Regions from separate parts of the Homo sapiens genome. Here region 2 is linked to region 1. The links are contacts of gene promoters, found by promoter capture Hi-C in human tissues and cell types (Jung and others, 2019). All regions are on one chromosome and are shown on one strand. The core of a region is centred on a gene start or on the middle of the fragment in contact, and the rest is flanking DNA. Distances in the headings are between cores, read along the strand shown. Region 1 holds the start of DSG4 (desmoglein 4). Region 2 overlaps DSC2 (desmocollin 2).

What was found. The method cuts DNA at HindIII sites, captures the fragments that hold promoters and counts their contacts. A contact is called where the count stands out against the background at its distance.
Region 2: a fragment that was not itself captured here is called in contact with the fragment with the promoter of DSG4 in region 1 in 4 of the 25 tissues and cell types used here (H1 embryonic stem cells, heart left ventricle, mesendoderm cells and 1 more).

The regions. Positions count from the first base shown.
Region 1 is chr18:31,373,162-31,379,974 of GRCh38, forward strand. It overlaps DSG4 (desmoglein 4), which reads left to right and starts at 3,616. Exons shown (of 16, transcript NM_177986.5): 1 at 3,616-3,798. The coding sequence starts at 3,751. All of the region lies in intron 1 of DSG1-AS1 (DSG1 antisense RNA 1), which reads right to left. The HindIII fragment of the contact is 6,705 bases long and covers 1-5,838 here.
Region 2 is chr18:31,084,664-31,091,476 of GRCh38, forward strand. It overlaps DSC2 (desmocollin 2), which reads right to left. Exons shown (of 16, transcript NM_024422.6): 4 at 6,365-6,484; 5 at 4,776-4,931; 6 at 3,006-3,150; 7 at 1,913-2,079. Among named protein-coding and RNA genes, the nearest start is that of DSCAS, 14 kb to the right of the region's middle. The HindIII fragment of the contact is 6,527 bases long and covers 1,693-6,813 here.

The DNA of each region.
Region 1 (6,813 bases), core at 2,366-4,865:
TTCTACATAATGGCCTAAGAAATATATTTCAAAAAACACTGCCTACCTTTTGACCTTCCTATTGCTGGATTTCTTCCTCAGACATCCTGAGCTGACCAGATTCCATAGTCGAGGTTGCCAGATATATAACTAACAGCATCAAAGGTTAACCATGTACATGATACAACTTTGTCATAAGAGGGACACTGCCAGTGTCACTGAAGAAACCAGAGTGACATCTAAATAATTATCACACTGTAGAATGGTTGCCACTGTAGTCATCGGGAGGCAGGAGGCAAACTAAGATGATATTTCCTAGATAAGTATGTAGCAAGTATGCAATAAGTATGTAAGTAATACGCTTTATTTAACATACAGCTAGAAGCCACGCTCTTCTGTCTCCACTTATTTGGAATACATCCTATACCTGTGAATTCACAGAGATAATCAACAAGGCATCTCTGTCAGGATGTAAGCATGATTTTAGGGTGTAAACTAACATCATCTTTATGGAAATAACATAACTCTTTACGAAACTGATGTTTAATCTCTATGATTTCTAACACCCACTAAATAACCTGGTTGGCCGGCCCCTTGTTGCCATACATAAGTTGCCTTTAATGAGGGGACAGGATGTTTATCTTCAGTGTGGTAGGTGAACAGACATGTGTTCACAGCAATGACTCTAGGTCAAAACCCTGACAAGCCTTGTTTACCTTTTGTCCCCGCCTCCCCAGGCCCAGGCAGATGAAAACCTTTTGCTTGCGTCAGCTCTGGAAACAACTTGTGCTGCATTTGACCACCATACTTTAGGACCATAATTATTTTTTAAATTTCCTTCCCCCTAACTCTTGCTTTCAAGAAATAGAATTGTCCTTGGATATTTGAATAATATCCAGTAGTAACCCTAGACTAGAATAATTTGATGGAAAAGTTTGCCCTAATGTCATTTCCACAATATCTTTGTCTGTATAAATTACATTTCTGTTTTTCAAAGAGGACTTGTATTGGCATGTATTGAATTCCTTGCCTTTTGTGGCATTGATTTGAAAAGTACAGGTGTTAAAGCTCTCACTGTGTTCTACACAGATGTGATGTGGAGAATAAAGGTGTCTTGCTACTTTATACAATATTATAGAAGCATAAGTACAATAATTAAATATCAGTAGCATCCCTAAAAGCCAATGTATGGTTTCATCTGAGCAAATGAAATGTCACTGGTTTGACATCAAAAATAAATACTATAAAAAACTTGCTAAAAATTCTGCTCATAGAACCAACAGTTCAGTAAACTCTAAAGTATGGGAAAGTCTTTTAAAGCTAATAGTGTTTAACCATCCACTATTTTGCCTTCACATACGTAGCTAATAATGAAAAGTGGCTTGGTATTTATATAAACTGACTATGAATGAGGAGATGGAACTCTTGCCTATCTTTGACCCTAATAAACCATACAGCCTCCCTAGACTATCACTATCACATGGGTAGGAGAGAGGCAAGATAGGAGAGATTGGATTATATGATCTCTGTGGTATCTTTAAGCATTAATGTTTTATGCTCTGTTTCTACAATGACTGATACTCTTCAAGAGAAACGGAAGTAGCTACTCTTTATCTACACAAGCTCAGAACCATAACCAAGTTTTGTCTTTGGGAATTCCACTGTAAAATCATCCATCCCCTGTGGGAAACAGTAGCTCACACCTGTAATCTCAGTACTTTAGGAGACCAAGGCAGGAGGATCACTTAAGCCCACGAGTTTGAGACCAGCCTGGACAATATAGCAGGACCTTGTCTCTACAAAATATTTTTAAAATTAACCAAGTGTGGTGACATGCACCTGTAAACCCAAGTACTTGAGAGGCTGAGGTGGGAGGATCACTTGAACTCAGGAGGCAGAGGTTGCCGTGAGCTGCACTCAGACCACTACTGCACTCCAGCCTGAGAAGCAGAGCAAGACTCTGTCTCCAAAAAAAACTTTAAAGCAAAAGATCATTCCCACAAATCTCCAAGGAGTAAACAGAAATGAAATGATGGGGCTTCAGGTAGTTCCTCCTTAGTTACTGAAGAATCTTTTAAATATGTTCATAATTATAATCTGGATTCAAATTCTGGATACCATTGAAATCAGGAGTTTCAAATGGAGAAAGCTAGAGGTACCCACATAAATGATCTAGTACCTATTTCTATTGCTTCCTGTTTCTTTTCTTTAAAACTCATCCTATAAATAGCATTCAAGTAGATAGAAAATCTTATATTTAGAAGAAAATATAAGAAAAATCTTATATGTAGAAGAAATCATCTATAGTGTAAACAAAAGATAGAGACCTTTGTGAAATATCTCCTTCAAACACAACAATAGAGAAGAATGTTGTTTTTCCCTTGTAAAAAGCAATGTCACTTAAAGACCTGGAGTTGTTTCATTAATTCTCTTAGGCAAATTAAATTATCTAATTCAACATGACATGAAATAATGCAAAAGTAAATTACTTTATCTGGCTTCCAAAAATACTAAAACTACTTTTCTCAAGAAACTAAGCAATACTTAGAATACATTCTATTACCAGGGTCAACCTTGTTTCTGAATTACAGTGATGGGATAGTGAAGACAGGAGGCAGTCTCCCTTTGAAATTCTCCAACCAACATGTATTATCTATCAATCAGAGAACAGTTAACTGCATTTTCTTTTAAGTTTATTGATGTTGCTGCCAGCCTGCAATGTTTGCATCAGGACACTCTATACCCTGTTTCAAACCCATACTAACAAAGGAAAAGGGAGACACGAAAAAGGGAAATAATATTCAAAAATATCCAGATCCCACTCTGGGCTTTTTTTCATTAAATTCTCACGTTTCCAACTTCAGTTTCTCCTTAATAAATATTTGTGGTGGTGTAAAATGTGTTCCTCACCCACATTATGTACTTTTTATCAGTGGTAATACTATGAGAAGTGAGAATGTTGTATTGTAGTTACTTTAAAATGATTTTGTAAATATCATATTGTAGAGGTTTGACTGAATAATCAAGAAAGAAAATGCCAAAGTATGGAAACAAACATACTGGTACTAGTTAAATCAGAGTTCCTTCATCTTAACTTTGTTATTTCAGAAAATCTTTAAAATTGAGAGTGCGGTTCAACCACAAGACATTTTAAAGAGAGAAGCAGGACTCAACTGAATTGAAATGAGCGTCATTATTCTATCTTTCTTCCTATACCATACTTGAGTCCTGATGACTTTCAACAATGGCCTCTGCTAAAAGTATCATTCCTTGAAGTGGGTTCTGCAGTGGACATGTGTGTGTATGTGTTGTCAGTATATGTAATTTTGCTTTTACAATGTTGGCAGTAAGAAGAAGCCTTCTAATTTTATTCAGCATGATGATAGGCCCTAGCATTTTAATTATTTTTTATGTTGTGAGTAATTTATTATTCACTGGCTATCTTCCCTGTAAATCTTGTCCTCGCTCTGTAAGGTTTTTCTTTGGTGTCCAACAAAGGGTTTCATTGCAATAAGAATCAAGGTGTGTCTAAATTCTTACCCAGAGCCCAAACAATGCCAGTCTTCCAGACCAGCCTGGGAGTTTGGGGTGGGGAAACAGTCATTATAGAATATCTTCATCTCTCTGCCCAGAGATCACCACAGTTATCACCCATGCCCTCCTAAAAGGGTGTCTCAAAGCATATCTTTCTGTAGAGCAGAATTCGGAACTGAGAAGACGAGGGCTCAAATTGAATCTCACAGGATTTGCGTGCAAGAGAAACCCAAAGGAATGGATTGGCTCTTCTTCAGAAACATTTGCCTTTTGATCATTCTAATGGTAAGTAGAATTTAAAGAGGTGGGAAGGAAATGCAGCCTCAAGGTCTTGTCTCTGTCAACTGTCGGGCTTTCTACATGGGATTTATTCCATTTTTAATCTCCTTCCTGCAAAGAGAGTTCTAGAAGTCCAGCCTCTGTTAATTTCAAACAACTCTCTCCGCCTTGAGGAACAAAATGCCATAGAGAAGCGGGGTGAGAATCTGGCTGAATTAAATTTATATGCCCTCAGAGACATAATCTACTTCACTTTGAGTGTTAGGACTATTCTAAAATTTTAAATTGGAAATAAAATTCATATTCTATGATCATATAAATAAATCAGATAGATTGCTGTGAAAACTGCCAGTGCAAATGGGTTCTAAATTTGAAGGGAAGTTAATCAAACCCATTTCTTTTCAATAGTTATTTCCCTATGAGTTTCTTTCAAAGTGGAGGAATGATAGCCATGTTGAAATTACATTGCAACTAATGATGACATACTAAAGTCATGAGAACTTTTTCCAGTCAGATATTGCTAAAGAAAAATGAAGCCCAGCCATCAAGACAAAACTTTTCTGGAATTATGAATGCATTCCTACAGACCAGCAAAGAAATATTTAAATGACTTATTTCTTTACAGTAAACATGGCATCTTGGATATTATATTTCTTTCCTCTAACCTTTGGGTGCCCAAGGTGTGACATGATTTCCAGACAGGCAGCATGCATAGCAAATATCCTACCCTAGAAAGAGATAATTCCAACTCCAAAGAAGAACAAAGTTCCAGTTGGCCAATCAACAAACTATTGCCAATTCTGGGAGGGTAAGAGGACAGGATTATTAGGAACTGTACAAATTTTTCAAAGTAAATTAAGACAAATGCATTATAGTTGGCCACACTTCAATCTCCCAGGAGTATCCAGGTTAGCGCTACAACCTAAGCTTAGAAAGTGATTCCCATCCTATTCTTAGGCAAGTGGCAATTATACCAGACTCCTCTGAACATCAGTTGTAAGAGACAGAGAGTAGCTAGGGCTGGGAGAGATGGGAGCACGTCATTGTCCAAGAGGCACAGTGAGAGCTACTCTTCTGGAATTCACATTTCTAAACTTCAAGAGCAGTGCGGGAGCCGAACACTGCCAAAGGGCACACAACCCCAAGCTCAAAAGGGAACGTGACAACAGTGGTAGAATATTGCATCCTCTGAGTTTAGGAGACAGATTATTAAACAATACCATTTTTGAAAAATATTTTTAAACTTAAAAACATAAGACGAAGGGCAATATTCTGTTACAATGATCATTATTTATTTACTAAATAAAATAAATGTTACTAAAAGAAGAGGCAAGAATCGGACTTGGTCTTCAATTGAAATAGTAAGTTATGAGGATATACCTCTTGTTACTCTTCTACCGAGTATATTCATGCTTTGACTCAGATAAACTTTTGGTTTTCTGTAAGGAAAATTGTATGTGTCAAGATTTTAGAGGCCACTTCTGAGCACTAAATCTTGCCTCCCATTGCCTTCTGCACAGGCATGATTTATGATAATATTATTTAATTGAAGAGTTGATTCTTCTCCTTGATCTTGAAAGAGTATTATACTTCAGACTCTCAGGATCTTTTTTTGGTAGTATTTATTTATTTTCCTTGGTAATACTAGCGTTTTTAATACTTAATTCCTCCTACTCCTCATTGATATTGAAGTCTTTGTGTTTGACATTTCACGGTAATTGTGAAAAAGTTCTTTAAGTATTTTTTTTCTTTATGCTTGTCTAAAAGATCCCTTACCATATCAATTAATAGTGTCTGGAATTGGGAGGTAGAGACTTCTGGCATATTTCAAAATTGAAACAAATACAAGAATTGTTTAAGGAGAATCAATGAGATGTTATAGATATTATAGGAAAGTAGACATGCCTACTTCTCTTTAATTTCCTGAACTTGAACTCTGCCCCTTCTTCATTAACTAAATCAAAGACTCTCTGGGGCATCATTGCAGCTTACACTAATGAGGGTGTGGCAGCCTCTCAGAGACTCACAGGTACTTTGTGTCAGCTACATCTCAACCGCAAAGAGCACTGTAAACAAAGTTCTGACTGGCTAACCAGCAAAAGGTACTCAAAACTCTAGATTACAATAGGGCACTGATTTTATCACGAGTCATTTGGCATTTTCTTCCTAAGGATGCTTATCATGTTCTTCTATAAAACAGACAGGGGTGGTGAGGGACATTCAACAGTGAATCGAGATTCAGAAGTCCCGGGTTTGAATTACAGCTCCTCTTCAAAGTGGCTGTGTAACTTTGGCAAAAGCACCCAACTTCTCAGGGCTTCCTTTGACCTCATGTGAGAATGTATGGTTAGACATGATGTTATTAAGTTGCTTCCACTGTAGAAACTGCAATTCTAAAATTATCTCCACTGAATACTTACATAGTAGAAGTTCATTTCTGGCTCATAAATAGTTTTCATAAATTTGGCTGGAGAATCTGAGGATTTAGGCAATTCTATGGATTGTATAAATTTTATAAGGAAGGAATCACTTACGGCAGGACAGTTATTAGCTGGAAGAGGCCTATATTATATCAAGTGGATAAGGTCATAAAAGACAACCATTTATCAGATAAGAATTTTTCTCTATGTGTGATGACCATTCATGCTACATATAAGATGTAAGCACTTCCATTAAATAGTCTAATTCTTGGAAGTTAAAAAGGTAGGTGGCTAAATATAGCTGTTATCTCATTGCAAGTTGAGAGCAGGCATCAAAATTTGAAAACATATTTAAAATTAACTTAGCCACTTATCAATTTAGTTCTCACATGCACTCAAATATGTTATTCTGAAACATGGAACAGAAATTTGTTTCTATTTACTTGTCAGGCAGATTTCCAGAAATATGACAGAGAGAAAAACACCTTATCCTATTTGGCTTGATATTTGTACTAAACAGAATACCCTAGATTGCTTTAAATGATTGGTTTCAGTACTGCTTATTACAGAAAGAATGTACTCATCACCGCAAAGGTTACAT
Region 2 (6,813 bases), core at 3,706-6,205, 290 kb before region 1:
GCTTTTTTTTTTTTTCCATAGAATGCTATTTTCACATAGACATCTATGGCTATGCAGACTATAGTTTTATGAAAGTATTTTGTAAAACATAAAGTTAATCTGTCACTTCAGGGAAAACAACTATTTGTTGCCAATGATAAATTGGAGATTTCAAACAAAAATGAGAAGCTTGGAAAACCTTTATCAACCAATGTGATATCAATGGAAGTAAAGAGGTGATCTTTTTGATATTATTTAATGCAATGTGTCAATATTTGGAAGCTCTGCATTACTTGGTGAACCAATATTTTCCAAATGACCAATGCACAATATAGAATGATGTACTGGTAAAATGGTCACTCAAAGTGTAAGATAGAGCAATGGATTTTAACGTAATAAAGTACAAAAGGTCATTGTTGAGGATTCAGAGTCCACATTACCAAAAACATTTAGGAAACAAGCTACTCCTTATCAAGTATTCATGTAGTATCAAGGAATAATATCCACAGTGATCTGTAATTATCATCAAAATACTACTCTCTTTTCTAATTTTATATCATGTCAGATTGCCTTTATATATGCTTCAGCTAAAACTACATATTGTAACAGACTAAATGCAGAAGGAGATATGAGAATCCACCTGTCTTAAGCAAAATACTAAAAACATTTGGAAAAATGCATAACAATGTCATTCTTCCCACTAAATTGTACTGTTTTGGAAAATGTACTTATTTTGTAAGTACAAAAAGAAGAAAAAGTGTAACAATTTTTACTGTTATTTTATAAGAATTTTAACTGTTAACATGTAATTAATTTATTATTTTTAATATTTAAATTAATATATAATTTAAACTTTCCTTAGTTTTAAACATTAACAAGTAACATAGATAAATATAACCTAGATAAATAAAAGATCTTTGGGATTTTCAACAATATTTAACACTGTTAACAGTATTCAACAATATTTAACAATATGTAATAATGTCAAGCATTGGTCTTGAGACCAAAGCTTTTGAGAACCTCTACCCTAATCCATGAGGGATAGAGGAAGGAAGAGAAAATTAATCTGAAGATTTAAGACTTAAGAATCAAATAAAATACCTGATAAACATCTATTACTATATTTTAAGATTAAGGATTATAAATATAGTAAATAAGGACACAGAAACTGCTATAAGAATTTAGATGAATAATGCTTCAGGGAGGAGGTAATAGTTGAATAACTAAGTGAATGAATTACTAAGCTAGGGTATTGCAGTAGAAAGAGACAGAATATAGATTTAAAACAATCTTGGAGGTAAAAACATGCTTTAGGAAGTGATGTGATTCAGGGGGGCCAAGAGACATCAAATACAATTTGGAGACCATGACTCCAAGGTGACAATAGAAAATGATTAATAGAGAAAGAATATATAAATATCTTTTTAACTAGAAAACATAGAATGGAAAATATGTTTAGAAGAAAAGAAGACAAGTTAAATTTTAGATTTATTACATCATAAGTACCTGTCAGACATCCAAATCAAGATTTCTAGCAGTTGATTAAAAATGGGAAACCAGAGATTAGAGAGACATAAACTGTCTTTTCATCTATGTAAGAGGTAGAATGTAGATGAGATTGTTGAAAAGATAACAAATTTCTGCATATATTTAAAAGGTTCACTTTTCATATTTGACATTTTGTTTTAATACTGTAAATATGTTTATATCAGGAAATCTGATTGTATGAAACAAACAATTCAGAAAAGAATGAATTAGCAGTTCAAAACCAGCATACTCCAAGGTTATTTAGTGATCTCTATTAACATACATAAAATAATAATGTTTCTAAAATGAGATTCACAACATACTTTTCAAAAACACATCTACAGGAGTTATACAGGTACTATTGAATAGCCACGTTATAATCAGGTTTTATTAATGTTTATGTTACCTCTCTGTCTAGCTGAGATGATGTTGTGGTGATCACGCCTGTAGTTGGATGCATAGAAAATAGGGTGGGTGATGGTGGCACCTGCCCAATGATGGAGTACTTCAGGCGTGTGTGCATCGTGTCAGGCTCATCTTTGTCAGTAGCACACACTTGTCCCACAGTAGTGCCTAGAGAAGAAAAGTCCTTTTTAATCTCCAAAACATTCACATGTTCTATGTTCCCTTTATTTCATTCCTTTTCACCCACCTCAAAAAAGTTCTGGACCACATTATTACATGGCAAAGTCATGGCTTTTATAAATTTGCAGACCTCTCCATACAGTATCACTTCCTTTCAAATATTCTGGCATACTAGCATTTTCGAATTGGGTGATCATATTCATATTTATTGTATTTAATGTATGATTTTATAAATGTTGATACTATCCCTCCATGTATTTTCAGACTAAACAATTCTGATTATTCTATAACTTTTCTCTGTTTGTAAGCTTGTGCTTAGATTGATCATAGGAGTCAGTTTTCTCTAAAACTGCATGGTTCACTTAGACATTTCTAGACAAGGTCTCCAAAACTGCATTCTGACTTTTAGTTAAAACAGACCATTTTCACAGGGCTGAGAAAATGTTTGTATTATTCTCAGTGACTTTCATAATCGTGCCCAGAATACTGGCAATCACATTTAATCCTAGAGAACATCCGTACATATCTTTAAGACTACATCTCCAATTAGTGAAAGACTTATTCTTTTTGGGCTATGTTCTCTTACATCCATCCATCCATAGGATGACAGCATAACATTTATTAACTCCTATTTGTCAGGCACTGTGCTTGGCATTCGCTGTGTATTGAGCTTCACTTCATCTTCATAACAATCTGGCATACTGATAACCCATTTTACAGATGAAGAAATTAGGCTTGCCAAGATTAGGAAATTTGCCAAGCATCACACAGCTAGTGAAACACAGAGTAAAATTCCACCCAGAGTCCCTTATTCTTGCTGCTGGGATACGCTGCTTCTCAACGGACATAGTGAAACTAAATGTATGAATTGAAACACAGTTAATTTGCCATATATTGTTTAAGGAGGTACTCACCCACTCTGCAATTTTCAAAAATTGTAAAAGTATAAGTTTCTTCTGTAAAAATTGGGTAGTTATCATTTTCATCCTCTATTTTGATTATTAGGGGCAGTGGAAGTTCTGGAGTATACCCATCTGGAGTTGTTGCAAAGGCAATTATCTGTGAAGAGAGTAAAATAAGGAGAAAAGTGAAAATAATCTTTTAAAATGAGGTATGCTTCAAATTCATTTTGGCTTTAACTTGGAGACTGTTCAGAACTACAGTATGAGTCTCACCATTTGTTATTGTTCTGGGATATGGATATAATTTTAATGCCAAAGAGGTGCCTAATTTCATGATTCAATATGGCATTGTATGTTTAAATTTATCTCTTTAAATTTATGAAAGATAATTTTAGTTTCTTCATTATTGCTATACTGTTATTCATGAGTGTAACAATTTTTACTGTTATTTTCCCAAACAGCCTTGAAGACTTCTTTATTTTGCTTTGTTTGAAAGGTTCAGGTGCATGGATTTTAAATACAACTTTCTGGATCTTTCTGAACTTGGGATCCTGTAGGATTACCCAGGTACAGTTAACTGGGATATTATCCTATTTTCTACTAATGAGGACTTTAGGCATATCAATGGTTACATTTGGGTAAGTCTTTTCAAAGAATTTTTAATTTAAAAAGGGTGAATCAGAAATGAAACAAATGAATGGTGGTAAACTGTGGTGGAATACAGTTTAATTTTTTTGTTTTTATAATATGAATTTCAATACCAATTTTCTCATAACAGCTATCATAGAAAGGCCAGAACATCCTAGGTACTCAGAAGGCCAGGCCATGGCAATTCTAAACCTAAATACTTTATTCAAAGCTTGCCTGTCTTATTTGATTAATTTGGTCTTCTAATGAATAATTAATTCATCCAAAATAGACATAAAATAATTAAAACTGACTTAAGCAAAATGACCAAGTCCTGTTGGGAAATCAAACCAGCATTAGGTTAAATTCTTTCATATTAACTCACTTTCCAGCATAGGAAATTAACCAGATGATTAAAGGACTGAGTAAGCTTAGGTAAGCACTGTCACACCCCCTACCTGCTCCCCATAAACTAATGCTCTCCCATTGCCAGGGTACTGAGGTTTACTTAATGACTGAACTTCATTTACCTCCTATGATATCTCCATACTATAAAGAGGTTCACAGATCTTTTTGTGCCAACTAAGTAACTGTTCTTGGCCGGGCACGGTGGCTCAGTCCTGTAATCCCAGCACTTTGGGAGGCCGACATGGGCAGATCACCTGAGGTCAAGAGCTTGAGACCAGCCTGGCCAACATGGTGAAACCCCATCTCTACTAAAAATACAAAAAATTAGCTGGGTATCATGGTGCGTGCCTGTGATCCCAGCTACTCAGGAGGCTAAGGTGGGAGGATCACTTGAACCCCGGAGCCAGAGATTGCAGTGAGCCGAGATTACGCCACTGCACTTCAGCCTGGGTGGCAAAGTGAGATGCTGTCTCAAAAAAAAAAAAAAAAAAACTGTTCTTCAAAGTGGTACTGTTGTGGGGGAAAAAAAAATAGTAAAACCATAATACCAGGAACAATCTAATGGAATCCAATATTATTTATTCTATGAAAATATTTTTTGTTTCAAGTCAATTATGTGCTATTAGGGAGTAGCCAGAGCATTGGTGACAAACTCAGAAAGCAGAAAAGGTTACGTGAATTGCAAATGAGAGACAAAATGGCCAAGCATCATCATTGCTAATACAGTACACACATTTTAGACTTTACCTCAAAAGATTCATACTGCTCACGATCTACAGGACGAGTACAATACAAGTTTCCAGTGTCTCTCTCCACATAAAATAAATTCCGAGGTTCTTGGTCAACTCCAGGACCTCTTATGGAATAGTATATGGTATAGTTTTGGGCCGTGTCAGATTGAACCTAGAAAGTAGATATTATATACATGAGACAAATCTTTATTTCAGCAGAGCTTTCATCTATATATTTATGAAATCTCATTGCCATTTTATTAGTTTAAATAATTGCCCTTAATTTATTATTATATATAAATTAAAACAGCAATAGAATAAGAAAGTCCAATTGAGAAATTTCAAGAGCAAGGCATGAGTAAAATAATGTAGTGCATCTTAGTTCTCCAGAATAACTAAAGGAATATTTGACAGGCTAGATGGTGTCTATACATGGAAAAAACACTTAAGACTCTTCCTGTCTTAGAAAACAAAGTATTCTGAGCATGGAAAATTATTCTGTCGTCAATGTTTTAAAAAACTGAGTTTTTATTATATGTAACATAACATTTAAGAACCGAGTTTAAAGTGTACTGTCTGCAGGGCAAAAATGTGGACAATAATTTCCTTAATGAGTTTTTTGTTCTTTGCCAACATCTTCCTTATAGGAACTGAGTAAAAAAAAAAATATGAGTGAGAATAGAAATGGAATAATATTTTGGAATGTGTAATATTCTGATCCTTGATTCGAAAAGCAAATTTCCTCCAAGCTGTGTTCATCCTCTCAGTAACATCCTATCTTTATATCAGGATAACTGACACAACTGTTTTCTAACAATTTCTCAACTTTAATATGCTCTTCTCTCAGCTGTATTAAATTTGTTGGTGGGGTATAAAAAGGATTCTCCCTTGCTATGTCAAGAACTGAGGGAAAATAAACCAAAGTCATAGACTGAATGTAGTAGCCACCAGTAATGGAAGAAGGCAAGAAGGCTTGCTGGGGTTTCTACTGAAAGTTAAAACAAGACAGAGAAAAAGAGCCAGGTATGCTTGGCTCATGCCTGTAATCCCAGCATTTTGGGAGGTTGAGATGGGAGATCATTTCAGCCTAGGAGTTCAAAACCAGCCTAAGCAACATAGTGAGATCTCATCGCTACAAAAAAAAAGAAACAAAAAGAGACAGAGACAGAGAGAGAGAGAAAGAAATGTGGATCCAGTGTGATTTCAGATGTAGATTCAAGAACAAGAAATAGAAAGATAGAAGGGCCTATGTGTCTTCCTCCTTCGTGGCATTTGGTCTTTCATCCAATTTTCTCCTTTATTATGCAAGAGAGTTTTGGGTTTTCTAGCTATTCTTAGGCTTGGCGATACCCTTGCTGATGTGACAATTCATTAAGGAACCATGTGTCTGAGTGCCACAGTTTTATGCTTGGCCTTTGCAAGCTGAACAAAAGTGTATGCAAGTATAAAGAGATATATTTATACCCTTATATGGAAACATATTATACACATACTCATTCACTCACATATTTATACACAACTATTACAAATAACTTCATACTCAGTGTCATAATGGTAAGAGATGGAAACTATAGACTCCCACAGCAGAAAGAAAGAAAACGGTACCTGTTGAAGGAAAAGTGGAAAAGGACCCAAGGAGTTTTCTAGCATCGAACAAGGAATTGGAGCCCATCTTCTCTTGGCGCGCCTTAGAACTTTTTCTTTAGTATGTCTTTTCTTTAGGACCTCAATTCATAAGACAGGAAAAAATAATAAAGTCAATGACTACTTTATTCTCAAACATTAAACAATGACACATCTTTCTCCTCTCAGGAGGATTAGCTGGGTAGGGGTGAGACCATGGGAGTGCTTGAAAACCAAACTAATCATCAACACTGCAAAAAGATAATGAAGAAGTAACTGTCCTAACTGTTATCACAACAATCCTCTTGGGAAAATGATTTGGTGGAAATATGGAAGAAAGAGAGATGGAACTGGAAGCCTAGAAGCAAAACTGAAAAAAAAATTACTGTTGCCCCATTGCCATGCAAAAACATGGGAGAGAGATATGCAAA